Regions from separate parts of the Homo sapiens genome. Here region 2 is linked to region 1. Evidence: promoter capture Hi-C in human tissues and cell types (Jung and others, 2019). All regions are on one chromosome and are shown on one strand. Each heading gives the region's core, a stretch centred on a gene start or on the middle of the fragment in contact. The rest is flanking DNA. Distances are from core to core; before and after follow the strand shown. Region 1 holds the start of PLA2G12B (phospholipase A2 group XIIB). Region 2 overlaps MICU1 (mitochondrial calcium uptake 1).

Region 1 (6,958 bases), core at 2,006-4,505:
GCCTAGGCTGGTCTTGAACTCCTGAGCTCAAGCAATCCACCCACCTCAGCCTCCCAAAGTGCTGGGATTACAGGCATGAGCCACCATGCCCGGCCCTGATAAGAGATTAATATCCAGAGTATATAAAGAACTTCTGACACTCAACAATAACAAAAAACCCAATTGAAAAATGGACAAAGGTCTTCTTAAATAGATGTTTCTCCAAAGAAAATATACAAATAGCCAATAAGCACATGAAAAGATGCTCAACATCACTAATTATGAGGGAGATGCATGAGATACTACCTCACATTCATTAGGATGACTATTGTCAAAAAAAAAAAAGGAAAACAACAAGTGTTGACAAGGATGTGGAGAAATTAGAAATCTTGTCCATTGCTGGCAGGAATGTAAAATGGTACAGCCACTATGGAAAGCAGTATAATGGTTCTTCAAAAGTTAAACATAGAATTACCATCCAGCAAACCCACTTCTAGGTATATAATACCCAAAAGAATCGAAAGCAGGGACTTGAATGGGTATGTGTACACCAGTATTCATAGCAGCAGTATTCTCAGTGAAGTATTGATACATACCACATGGATGAACTTAAAATTATACTAAGTGAAATCAGCTGGACACAAAAGGACACATATTATATTATTCCATTTATATGGGGTACCTAGAATAGGCAAATTCCTAAGAACAGAAAGTAGAATAGTGGCTGCCAGGGGCTGGGGAAAAGGGGAATGGGGACTTATCACTTAATGGGAACAGAGTCTCGGTTTGGGATGATGAAAAAGTTCTGGAGATGGATAGTGGTGATGGTTGCACAACAATGTATGAATGTTCTTAATGCCACTGCATTGCACACTTAAAAATGGTTAAAATGGTAAATATGTTATGTATATTTTACCACAATTTAAACATGTATAAAGTTTCAAGAAATGGGGGGACAATACTATTAACAGCTCTAGTAACAGTTGCATCAGCAAAAAGATCCTTCTCAAAACAAAAAAGTATCAAATATTTCTTGCCATCTTACAATTGCCAAGAGCAACTGACATCACTTTCAGTTACACTGATTGAAAATTAGGTTGTTAGAAGTATAAACTTTGATGACCTAATCAATGAATTTTCAGAAAAGTCAGAAAAATCCTATGATCAAAATATTGCATACTTATAAAGTAATATATAGTATTATATAAAATTATGACACCAATTTTTAAAAAATTTATGTATATATTGATACTCATGTATCTCTATTAACCTTATTATATTTTACAAATAATAAAACATTTTTTAAAGGAAAAAGCTTTATAGTTAGCTTTTTTTTTTTGAGGCAGAGTCTCACTCTGTCACCCAGGCTGGAGTGCAGTGGCACGATCTTGGCTCACTGCAACCTCCACTTCCCTGGTTCAAGCAATTCTCCTGCCTCAGCCTCCTGAGTAGCTGGGATTATAGGTGCACGCCACCACGCCGGGCTAATCTTTTTGTATTTTTAGTAGAGACGGGGTTTCACCATATTGGCCAGACTGGTCTTGAACCCCTGACCTCAGGCAATCCACCTGCCTCGGCCCCCCAAAGTCCTGGGATTACAGGTGTGAGCCACCGCGCCCAGCCTATAGTTAGTATTTTAATGGCAAGTTCCCCTGCTTTTGGAAAAGGAGCTCTGCATTTGCAGTTTTGTTTTGGTGAAGCCCTACAAATTATGTAGCTGGCCCTGGTGCCAGCTTTCCCATTGATAGCCTGTCCAGCTTTGATCAAGTCACTTACCCTCTGCATCAGTTTTCTCACCCCCAAATGGGACTATTTAATCTGCTTCATGAAACTGGCATGAACATTTGTGCATATGTGCATGTGTATGTGTGTGCCTCTGTGTATGTGCATATGCATGAAAGTGGTTTGAAAAAGTATAGATGCTTTAAAATATTGGGTGGCATTGTTGTGACTATGAATAATTTTTAACCACTGCCCTTCCTGGAGTCTGAGTCTTCAGCCAAACACATTTACTGAAAATGAAGAAATTAATTCATTTAATTCATTATTTTCCATGGGGCTTTCCAGACAAACATTTGAGAAAGGAGCTAAATGATTCATGTGGTCCATAAAGGTATCATTTTTATAGACTGGTGATTATTTTATTATTACTATTTTTTTGAGACAGAGTTTCGCTCTTGTCGCCCATGCTGGAGTGCAATGGCGTGCTCTCGGCTCACTGCAACCTCCGCCTCCTGGGTTCAAGTGATTCTCCTGCCTTAGCCTTCCTAGTAGCTGGGATTACAGGCGGCTGCTACCTTGCCTGGCTAATTTTTGTATTTTTAGTGGAGACGGGGTTTCGCTATGTTGGTCAGGCTGGCCTCAAACTCCTGACCTCAGGTGATCCAAACGCCTCGGCCTCCCAAAATGCTGGGATTACAGGCATGCACCACCATGCCCGGTCCTAGACTAGTGATTTTATAGATGGCATTTCTTCACACGACTAAAAGCAGTCTAAACTGAAAACGATGCCAAAACACTAGACTTCAGTCAACAGTCTTAAAAGCCTACACTCCCAAATAGACTATTTGATAAACCCTCTGACTTCTAAGAAACTCAAAGGAAAAACACCACCAGGAGAGCCGAGTGCCCCCAGAATTGTCCTTGGACCATCTGTAGATCTTGTCTTATGATCCACTTATGCTGAGTGTAAACAGAGATACTGCTGTAAATAGAAGCCAAAATGTCCCTGCACTCAGATGGCTACATCTGGGAGCTCTGCCAAATTAGAGGATTTATGCGTCAGAGCCAGGTGGGTTCCACAGCAGAAGCTGGGGTCTCAAATCTGAACTTCTGCTTAACACACACTTGGTACCTACTCTGACACTATCGTGACCCTTGGTAAAGTGACTATTAATTCCTACCGCTGGGGCTTTCCTGGGCCCTGTACACATCCTCCTGACTCTCCTTGGAGACTATGTAGGTAGCTGGCTGAGGGGTGTGGCTAGGACCTTCGGTCAAGCTCTTCTATCAAGAGGCTGGCCCTGAAGAGCCACACTTGTAACTGATCAACAGCTTAACAAGCTGGTCGGGGTAGAACTCCGAATCCTTCACCGTTCCTGCGTCTCAGAAGCTGGCTAACATCTCCCTCCCTCCAGGGTGGTAGAATCCACTTTGAAATGTTCTCTCTCCCTGGCCCTCCCACTCCCTAACCTTTGCCCTCTTTCTAATTGCCCTGATCTCATCCCAACCTCCATAGCTATGTTTAAAGTCCACCTCTGGGGAACAGACAGATTGAATGTTCCAGATAATCCCTTTCCCAGTCCTGCCTGACATCTGGGTAGGGGGTTTGTCCCTGGAATTCTGGGACACTGGCTGGGGTTTGAGGAGAGAAGCCAGTACCTACCTGGCTGCAGGATGAAGCTGGCCAGTGGCTTCTTGGTTTTGTGGCTCAGCCTTGGGGGTGGCCTGGCTCAGAGCGACACGAGCCCTGACACGGAGGAGTCCTATTCAGACTGGGGCCTTCGGCACCTCCGGGGAAGCTTTGAATCCGTCAATAGCTACTTCGATTCTTTTCTGGAGCTGCTGGGAGGGAAGAATGGAGTCTGTCAGTACAGGTGCCGATATGGTGAGTGTGCGGTTTCTCTTTCTGTAAAAACTGTTGCTGGTGGACCCATGGACAGCCCCAGAGAGGTCACGATCTGTCTTGCACTTTTTCCTGTTATCCACTTAGAGCTGCCAGATTTAGCAGATAAAAATGTAGGACACCCAGTGAAATGTGAAATCCAAATAAACAACAAATAAGTCATTAGTATAAGTATGTCCAGTGAAATATCTGGGACATACTTATCCTGACAAATTCTTCGTTGTTTATCTCAAACTCACATTTCACTGAGCTTCCTGTATTGTATCTGGGAAACCTTCCCTGGGCCATTTTAATGAGTTTGTTGTGAGGCAGTTCTTAGGAAAAAAGGGTACCTGGGGTGGGAAGAAGGAGGGTGGGTATGAGAGGCCTCTGTGAGGAGTTCCCAGGGATGAAAACTGAAGCCGAACATTCAGAGAAAAATCTGCCATGGGGCAAAACCACCTCCTCAGCTGCTCTGTGCTCAGCTTGGAAACAAATTCTCCCTTCCCCCTGCTGCAGTTCACACCGTCCTCCCAGCTCTCAGTCCCTGACTGGCATCAATTTGCTGGACTTTCTCAAGGGAGCTGTCCCTGCCTGCAGCCTCGGCAACGACAGGCATGCTGTGGAGAGGAAGGGTTCGTGGCTCACCAGGGATCCCGGGGCTGTCCCCTGGACTTGGCGCCAGATGCAGATTTGTGAGCTGGCAGGAGCACTTCCCCTACCTTGCCTGAATATGGCTGGGGGTACACAGATATAAGGTGCACACCTGGCTGCCGGCACAGAGCCCCTGGTCCCAGGGGCCCTGGAAGTTAATGTAAGGGGAGCAAAATGTGGAGCCCCAGGCCTTGAAGCTGGGTGGCATCGTGTAATTGCCAATGCGCATGAAAACGTTTTCCAAAGCATGCACAGTCTCAGGTCTCAGGTAGCATTAGTTTTATGGTTTAATTTATCAACTATCTCATCAAGGGATTAGAAATGAAAATGGTGAGTCAATTTAGCCTAACAGGAAAACACATTTGAGAAATATTTTCTCCAAATACTCAACAGAGAAAAAGTCAGCTTTGAAGAGATGCACAAAAAAACTACATACTTCCCGGACTCACCCTTAAGTCTCTCTATTCCTTTTTGAGTGGGGAAAATCGCTTCCTTATACACTAAGAGTGACTAGGAGGTAATGGTTAATCATTGCATCAGGACCCAAAGTTTTGCAGCATAGATGTTTTAACAATCTATGGTTAAAATCTATGTTTTAACCATCTATGTTTTAACCATCTATGCTGCAGCTTCTTTGTGAAAGTTTCACAGAGAAAAATGCCTGGTCTGTTAGGACCCACCTGGCCCTAAAACCATGTATTTGTCCAAGGCAGTTGGACCAACGCAGAGGCCTTGCCACTGGATTATGCTCACACTGTTTGCACGGATGGGACAGGGAAGGGGTTGACTCACTTCAGACATTGGAATCAACACAGGTGTTTTCCTTCCTAAAGGCAACACAGGACTAGTATCTGTAGTTCAGCAAATAGGCAACAGCAGGAATTTTTATTAGGAAATCAAGAACCAAATCCTATTCTTCCTTCTCTAGCAAAACAGCATTAAAAGACTTAAGCAAATTTTAGTTGCGGAGCCTCTGGCTGGGCAGGGTGGAAGCCAGCAGCAACTGGTGGGGGATGGGAAGAGTAAATAGAAGAGAAAGGCAAATAACTCTTCTCACTTTGTGTAAAACAACCTGCTCAAAGAGGGGCCTGAAAAACACTTAGAAAAATAGGCGGTTATGCCTCCTTACCTTGGAACCCAGTAGAGCCAAAAACCTGGCGGCTGTGCCCAAAAGAGTACAAAATACCTTCTCAAACTGATTGTGAATCGAGCAATCTTTTGAACAGACAACACCTAACAACGAGTCTGCTCTTTTGTAGTTTGCTTTGTGACACATCTCTCATGCACCGTGCTCGTCTTTTAAGTAGTGGTTCTCAAACTCACCTGTGAATTGAAGCCCCTGGAGGGCAGATTCAACCAGATCTCTGGGCCCCACCCCAGGTGTTTCTGATTAGTAGGAGATTCTGGGCTTAGGAGATCCTCCTGCCTCAGCCTCCCAGTTAGCTTGGGCTACAGGTGTGCGCCACCATGCCCAGATAATTTTGTAACTTTTTGTAGAGCAGGGAGTCTCACCATCTTGCCCAGGCTGGTCTCCAACTCCAGGGCTCAAGCAATCCTCCCAACTTGGCCTCCCAGATTGCTGGGATTATAGGCGTGAGCCACGGCACCAGCCAGATTTTACCTTTGATAGGTACTAACTACTATTTAAAACAGTGGGTTTCTAACTTGGGTACACTTCAGATCACCTGAGGGGCTTTAACAACACCTGGCACCAAATCAATTAAATCAAAATTTCTGTGGGTTGGCCCCAGACATCAGTATTTTAACATTTTTCCCAGGTGATTGCAAAGCACAGCCAAGGTAAAGGGGTGCCATTCTATGACGTCATTCTTAGAGAACTTCAGCCCACAGGTTAAATTATGCAGGCAGATAAAACTGTGTATGTATCCTGGTAGCCCATGATAGCATGTCAACATTGTTTTCCGTGCTTCTCATATCTAAAGTAATTTGTTCTCATGCCAACACACAAAATCTGTACTTGTCAAACAACTGGGCTATAAATATGACAAGATCCAGCGTGTGTCAATGGCATACCTAGCACAACTGTTATTAAGGAGTCTCTACCAGCTGGGTGCGGTGGCTCATGCCTGTAATCCCAGCACTTTGGGAGGCCAAGGCAGGCAGATCACGATGTCAGGAGATCGAGACCATCCTGGCTAACACGGTGAAACCCTGTCTCTATTAAAAATACAAAAAAAATTAGCCGGGTGTAGTGGCGGGTGCCAGTAGTTCCAGCTACTCGGGAGGCTGAGGCAGGAGAATGGTGTGAACCTGGGAGGCAGAGCTTGCAGTGAGCTGAGATCTCACCATTGCACTGCAGCCTGGGCAACAGAGCGAGACTCCACCTCAAAAAAAAAAAAAAAAAAAAAAAGGAGTCTGTGCCAATGCAAACAAGATTTCCTTGAGAATCGCTTCCAAAATATAGATAACCTTTTCCACCTCCAGAGATTCTGATGCAGTAGGTCTGTGGTGAGACCTTGGAAGTGCACTTTTAATGGGTAGTCTTTGAACCAGACTTTGAGAAATAAGCATAGTAATGGAAAAATCATGGGTTTGAATTTAGGAGAAAATATCCCATTGCTGGTGACCTTGGGTGAGTTATCTGACTCTCTCAACCTTAGTTTCCTCAAATATGTAAAAATAATGTTACTAATACCCACCTTGCAAAGGTGTTGTGAGAATTAAAGATAATATACATAAAGAATCAGTGGTATATATAAA
Region 2 (6,958 bases), core at 3,827-6,326, 440 kb after region 1:
TCATTTTTGGAGAAGGTAGTAACAAGTGTGTGAGGGATAAGACCAAATTGTTTCCTAGAAAGGAATTATAGGTATCAACATGAATTCATAGTTTGTGATAGCTAGATATGAATCTAATCACAAAGAAACATCAGCCTAATTCAAAATGAGAGATATTCTACAATATAACTCACCTGTGCCTTTTAAAACTGTCAAGGTTAAGAAGTACAAAGAGAGAAAAAATGACACAGCGGGGAACTCCAAAACCACATCCCGCCATTAAACCAAAAATTAAGCTGCCAAAAATTGTCAGTCAACTTGTTCAGATCTCTAGAATCTAACGAAAGACTTAAAACAACCAGGAGAACGCTTTAAAAGAAAGAAGCTGCTAAAATTTGTTCACAGAACATTGTATTTTAACTTACCTGGTGACCACCCCAAGTCCCCAGTGCAATGGCAGCTGTAAGGATGGCGGCCCATGTTCCTGACAGAGTTTGCTTGTGTCAGAACGAGCAATGTGGATCATGTTCTTGGATGACTCTGGATGTGGGCATCAACCTGTCTGGTGGCTCCCTAAGGAATCAGCTTTGAGGCTTGCCTTTGTTTCACCTGCTTCAGAGCTTTTAGGGGACTGGGGCAGCATTTGTCAGAAAGATTTAAAGGTAAATAATACTGTAGCAGCTGGGACAAGCAGACAAACCAAATAGCCTGGGAAGGAAGAGGCTTTGTAAGGAGATACATGGGAGAACAAGTGATTTGAAATGCTTCACCATATACAGGGGAGTGTAGAAGGCTTAGGGTTGAATGAATGTTCAGAAGAAACCTTAGAAGATCCTGAGCTTTCATGTCTGGCTGACATTTAAGCCCCATGCAAGCCGGAATCTTAAGGCTAAGAGAGAGTTGTAAATGGTCTTGCTAAGTAAGCATTGAAGAAATGCCCAATACAGAGCCAGTCTGAAAAGATCCGGAGAGTATTTTTACCCCTTTCGCTCCAGGCATTTAAGGAAACCTGTCAAATCACTAGTTGCTCACTAAGGTGAACAGAGACTTGAGTGACGACCTATGACAAAGGTCACAGGTCTTTACAAGAAGAGTTTAATAAAGTCATTAAACAAACAACTACAACCCACAGTAAGTAGCAACAACAAACCCTGAGGAAGGGGAAGAATGCGATTTCGAGAGTTACCACATTATAATATACAAAATGTCCAGTTTCAACAAGAAATTATGCATACATAGAAACAATAAATTACAGCCCAATCACAGAAAGAAAAAAAAAAGAAATAGGGAGTATCCTTGAGGAGGCACGGACATTATATGTACTACTCAAAGACTTTAGATCAACTGCCTAAAGTATAGTTAAGTAGCTAAAAGGATGATGTATGAACTAACAGAAAATTTCAATAGATACATAGAAATTGTTTAAAAGATACCAAATAGAAGTTCTGGAACTGAAAAGTACAAGAGCTGAGTTGAAAAATTGACTAGAGGGATTCAACCAGCAAACTTGAGCAGGCAGAAGAAAGAATTAGTGAACTTGAAGATATAGGTCAATTGATATTATCTAGTCTGAGGCAGAGAGGAAAAAGAATGAAAAAAAAAATGCACAGAGCTGAAGAGACTTATACTTTAAAATGTTTATAGTGGTAAATTTTGTTATATGCATTTTACTGCAATTTTTTTAAATTACAAAAATGTAAATGATGTGGTACTGGCATAAACACAGACAATGGAAGAAAATTGAGAGTTCAGAAATAAACCCACACATCTATGGTTAATTGAATTTCAACAAGCATGTAAGACAGTGGTAAAAGGTCATACCATTTCAACAAATGGTATAAGGTCCACTAGATATTCACGTACAAAAGAATGAAGGTGAACCCCCTACTTCACATTATATACAAAATTTAACTCAAAATGGATCAATAACCTAAAAAAAAAGAGCAAATGCTGTAAAACCCTTAGTAGAAAAGTAGGGGTAAATCTTCATGACCTTGGATTGGTAATGAAATATTAAATATAACATCAAAAGCACAAATAATAAAATAGATAAATGGGACTTCAATATTTAAAACTTTTCTGCTTCATAGGACATTATCAAGAGTGAAGGGGCAACACACAGAATAGGAGAAAATATTTGCAGATATGTCTATGATAAGGATCTAATATCCAGAATATATAAAGAACTTCGATTAGAACTCAACAGCCAAATGAGAAATAACAAATTCAAAAATGAGCAAAGGATTTGGATAGACATTTCTCCAAAGAAGATATACAGATGGTCAAAAAGCACATGAAAAGATGCTGAGCATCATTAGGTATTAGGGGAATGTAAATCAAAATCACAGTGAGATACCATGTCATATCCATGAGGATGGTTATAATTTTTTAAAGAAGAAGAGGAAGAAGTATTGGTGAGGGTGTGGAGAATGTGGAATCCTCTTACATTGCTTATGGGAATGTAAATGGTGCTGTAATCGCAGTACTTTGGGAGGCTGAGGTGGAAGGATTGCTTAAAGCCCAGGAGATCAAGGATGCAGCCCAGATCCATGATTGTGCCACTGCATTTCATCCTGTGCGACAGAGCAACCTCCTCCTGTCTTAAACAAAAAACAACCAGCTGAGTGTGGTGGCTCATGCCTGTAACCCCAGCACTCTGGAGGCTGAGGCACGCAGATTGCTTAACTCCAGGAGTTCAAGACCAACCTGGGCAACATGGCAAAACCCCATCTCTACAAAAAATACAAAAATTACCCGAGCATGGTGACATGTACCTGTAGTCCCAGCTACTGGGGAGGCTGAGATGGGAGGATCACCTGAGCTGAGCCCCAGAGGTCAAGGCTGCGGTGATCCAAGATCATATCACTGCACTCCAGCCTGGGTGTCAGAGTGAGACACTGTCTCAAAACAAAACAAAACAAAACAAAACAAAACAAAAACCAAAAACATAGAGCTGCCATATGACCCAGCAGTTCCTCTCCTTAGTACATACCAAAAGAATTGACAACAGGTACTCAAACAGATACTCATACATGAATAACCAAAAGGTGGAAATAACCTAAATGTCTTTGAGCATATGAATAGATAAACTGTGGCATATACATACAGTGGGGTTTGGATCATAATCTGGAAAGATACAATCCCAAAAAATCAAAATTCCTTACCTTGTTATCTTTATTTGGGAGTTAAGTATGGCTTAAGGAGCTGTGTATGGGGGCCAGGCATGGTGGCTCACGCCTGTAATCCCAGCACTTTGAGAGGCCAAGGTGGGCAGATCATGAGATTAGGAGATCGAGACCATCTGGCCAATATGGTGAAACCCATCTCTACTAAAATACAAAAAATTAGCCAGACGTGGTGGCGGGCACCTGTAATCCCGCTACTTGGGAGGCTGAGGCAGGGGAATTGCTTGAACCTGGGAGGCAGAGATTGCAGTAAGCAGAGATTGTGCCACTGTACTCCAGCCTGGCGACAAAACGAGACTCCGTCTCAAAAAAAAAAAAAAAAAAAAAAACAAAAAACAACTGTGTATGGATGCCAGATTGATAAGGGATGAACTTGTGGACTTCATTTTAGGTATCAGTAATTTTAAATGTCAACTTGACTAGATTAAGGAATACCTAGAAACCTGGTAAAGCATTATTTTGGGTGTTAGGGTGAGGAGACTAGTGTGTGAATCTGAGTGGATTTAGATGGGGACGGTCTGCCCTCAATGTTGATGGGCACCACCCAATCAGCTAGGGATCTGGAGACAGCAAATGGTTCTCTCTGAGAGCTGGGGCAGACTTTTCTGCTGCTGCTTTGGATATCAGAAATTCGACTTCAGAAAAGTGTATTATCACAGCATTTATTGTGTGTAAGCATTGTGCGTTTATGTTAAAACGTTGAAACTTCCTCAATAAATGAAGAAATGACCTTTTTTGTACTGCATTTGTGAAAGATAAAATTTCTCAAGATCTCAGCTCTTTGGGCAACTGTGTATGCAATAATGACCCATTGTGGTTTTTAACTTATCTCATGAAAAGACTTAGGTTTGTTCTCAGGGTATTTCAGATGACTGCCTTTATAACTGGGGCACATACGATTACTAACTATAGTGATAGGCGTTTATACATTTCCCCTTTGAGCCATTTCTTTATGAACAGTGGTTCTTCTGCTCAAAGTGTTCTGTCTCATTCTTATGTTTCTCAAATCTTCTTTAAAAATGTAAGCAAATATTTTTAAAGAATTTTTATGTTTTCCAAAATTAGGATTTTAGACTTTAGGGATTTTGATCTTTGGGGATTTCAACATTCGGGATTATGGTGTTCAGTGTGTATTTTGGGGGGATTATGATCAGCATCCCATACAGTGGAATATCATTTGGCAATAAAAAGGAATTAAATATTGATTCATGCTACAACATGGTGAACCTAAAAAACATTATGTTCAGTGAAAGAAGCCAAACCTAAAAGGCCTACGTACTGTGTGGTTAAATGGTAAAAATGGTGAATTTATCACAATCAAAACCAATAAACCTCTACAGGAAAAAATAAGGACAAAGAAAGGCTGTTCCCTATTAATGGAGACTAAAGAGACATGACAACTAAATGCAGTTTATGATTGTGGATTACATCCTTGATCAGGGTGAAAATAGCTATAAAGGAAATTATTGGGACAATTTGCTAAAATTTGAAAATGGACTGGATTTGGCTGGTCGCAGTGGCTTACATCTGTAATCCCAGAACTTTGGGAGGCCAAGGTGGGTGGATTACCTGAGGCCAGGAGTTCAAGACCAGCCTGGCCAACATGGCAAAACCCGTCTCTACTAAAAATACAAAAATTAGATGGGCGTGGTGGTGTGCATCTGTAATCTCAGCTACTCGGGAGGCTGAGGCTTGAACCCGGGAGGCAGAGGTTGCAGTGAGCTGAGATCACGCCACTGCATTCCAGCCTGGGTGACAGAGCGAGACTCCATCTCAAAAAAAAAATAAAAAAGGACTGAATTAGATAATAGTATGTGTATCAATACTAAATTTCCTGGTTTTATTAAATATACACTGTGCTATAAATTATGTATCAGAATTACATTTTGGGGATTTTAGGCTTTAGAAATTTTGATCTTTGGGGATTTCAACGTTTGGGATTATGGCATTTGGGATTGTGACCATTAGAGAATGTCTTTGTTCCCAGGAAATCTATGCTGAGGTACTTAAGCATAAAGTGGCATGATGTCTCCAATTTACTTTCAAAGTGGCATGTTGAAAAAATACAAGGCAAATTGTGTAATATGTAAACTGTTGGTGAATTGGTAAAAAATATATAATAGTACTTTATACTAATCTTTCAACTTTTCTGTGAGTTTGAAGTTATGTCAAACTCAAATTTTGTTACCAACAAAATTAGATTTGCCCTTATGTTACCTTCTCAGCATCAGCATGGCCCGGATGATTGTTAGAAAAATAATGTTAGGTTTGCTTCTTTGGCTTAACTTCCTCATTTCACTCTATCCTTAGACTTTTGTCTGTTTCTCAACCTGTGGCTTCCACTATGTTATTTATTTTAATTATAGCAATTTCCCCATAAGCTTATTACATCATTATTATTAAATATTAGCTTCTATACACATTTATTGTTATGGCTGGTAATGGTCAGCCTTTGGGGACCTATTCTCATTTTGTGTATTTTTTCCTGTTCACATAGTTTACCTTTGCAGTATCTTGGGTAACGTAAAAAATGCAAATTTTTTTCTTTTATTTTGAGAAATTTAAATATTAACTTCCTGGTGGAGGGCTTTGCTGTTCTAGTTCTCATCCAGTAGCTTTTTTTGTCTGAAATTTCTGTTCAGTCTCTTGGTAGAAGATCAAGTGTAGTATGAGATCTAACCTTAATAACATACTGGACTATACTCATTTTTGTTGTCAACTCAAAGAAGTAATCTCTAAATGCTATCAAGCAGGACTATGCCTTCTGTGAGCCGCAAAAGAAGTCAGCAAAGTTCTTCTAAGTAGAAGCGCCATCAAAACCTACTACTGTGTAATTGTTATTCACCTGTGGACTTTAACCTGTCCATAGCTACTGTTTCTTATGAACAAGTAAATATCTAGTAGAGGCTATTTTGAATGAGTTTATTGAGAAGATCATACAAACTGACTTCACGATGATTCGTGTGGTACTTGTATTTTCAGTTGGTTAACCAGTTTTCTTTCCTTTGTGGTTTATGATGGGATCTCCACTAGACAGAGGTAACCCATTGGATAGTTGTGTAACTGGATGCTGGTGTGATGGTGCTTGTTGGTTTAGTTTTCATCATACTCCTCTTGAAGTTATGCCTGCAATGCTGCCTCTTACTTTATGCTTGCATGACATTATTACTTTGATTGTGCTTTATTGGTTTGGGTTTTTAAAATCTATTTTTTATACTCAAAATAATTCCTTAAATATTTTTGGTGGTCTAGAACTTGTGGAAATTAGTTTCAAGTCTAACTTTTTGGTGGATCCTTTTCAGTTTTTGAAAATATATTCAATGTCACAACTAAGTTTATGCTTTGGCTAAGAATTCAGAAAACAGAGTAAGTTTGTTTAAACACCCAGGAAGAGACCACTTGCCAGGCAGACAATTACCAAAGCTGAGAACTAACTTTCTTTGTGAGATTTATAGATTAAAGAAGAGAAATATATATTTAGAGTAAAAACTAAGTTGTAGGAGACAGTTTCATCAAATAGCTGACATCTAGGAGCCTCCATTAAAGTAACAGTAGATATGATTAAATTGCCGAAAGTGTGTACGACTGATTTGGCATTATATTTCAGAGATGCTATTCACTCTGCATACTGGTCTGTATTCTGAAGCTAAGATTCTTGGGGCTATCAAGTAAAATTAGTTTTTCAAAAATTGGTTTTCTGAGCATTTGTATAGGCCTTGGAAATAGTTGCTCACTTCTTTCTTTCTAATCACTATCAGTCTAGTTTTTCTTGGACAAAACTGATTTCCTTTTAG

Evidence for each region. The method cuts DNA at HindIII sites, captures the fragments that hold promoters and counts their contacts. A contact is called where the count stands out against the background at its distance.
Region 2: a fragment that was not itself captured here is called in contact with the fragment with the promoter of PLA2G12B in region 1 in 2 of the 25 tissues and cell types used here (dorsolateral prefrontal cortex and lymphoblastoid cells).

Annotation. Positions count from the first base shown.
Region 1 is chr10:72,951,103-72,958,060 of GRCh38, reverse strand. It overlaps PLA2G12B (phospholipase A2 group XIIB), which reads left to right and starts at 3,255. Exons shown (of 4, transcript NM_032562.5): 1 at 3,255-3,586. The coding sequence starts at 3,376. The HindIII fragment of the contact is 10,065 bases long and covers 1-6,367 here.
Region 2 is chr10:72,508,643-72,515,600 of GRCh38, reverse strand. All of the region lies in intron 5 of MICU1 (mitochondrial calcium uptake 1), which reads left to right. Among named protein-coding and RNA genes, the nearest start is that of MICU1, 110 kb to the left of the region's middle. The HindIII fragment of the contact is 4,645 bases long and covers 2,754-6,958 here.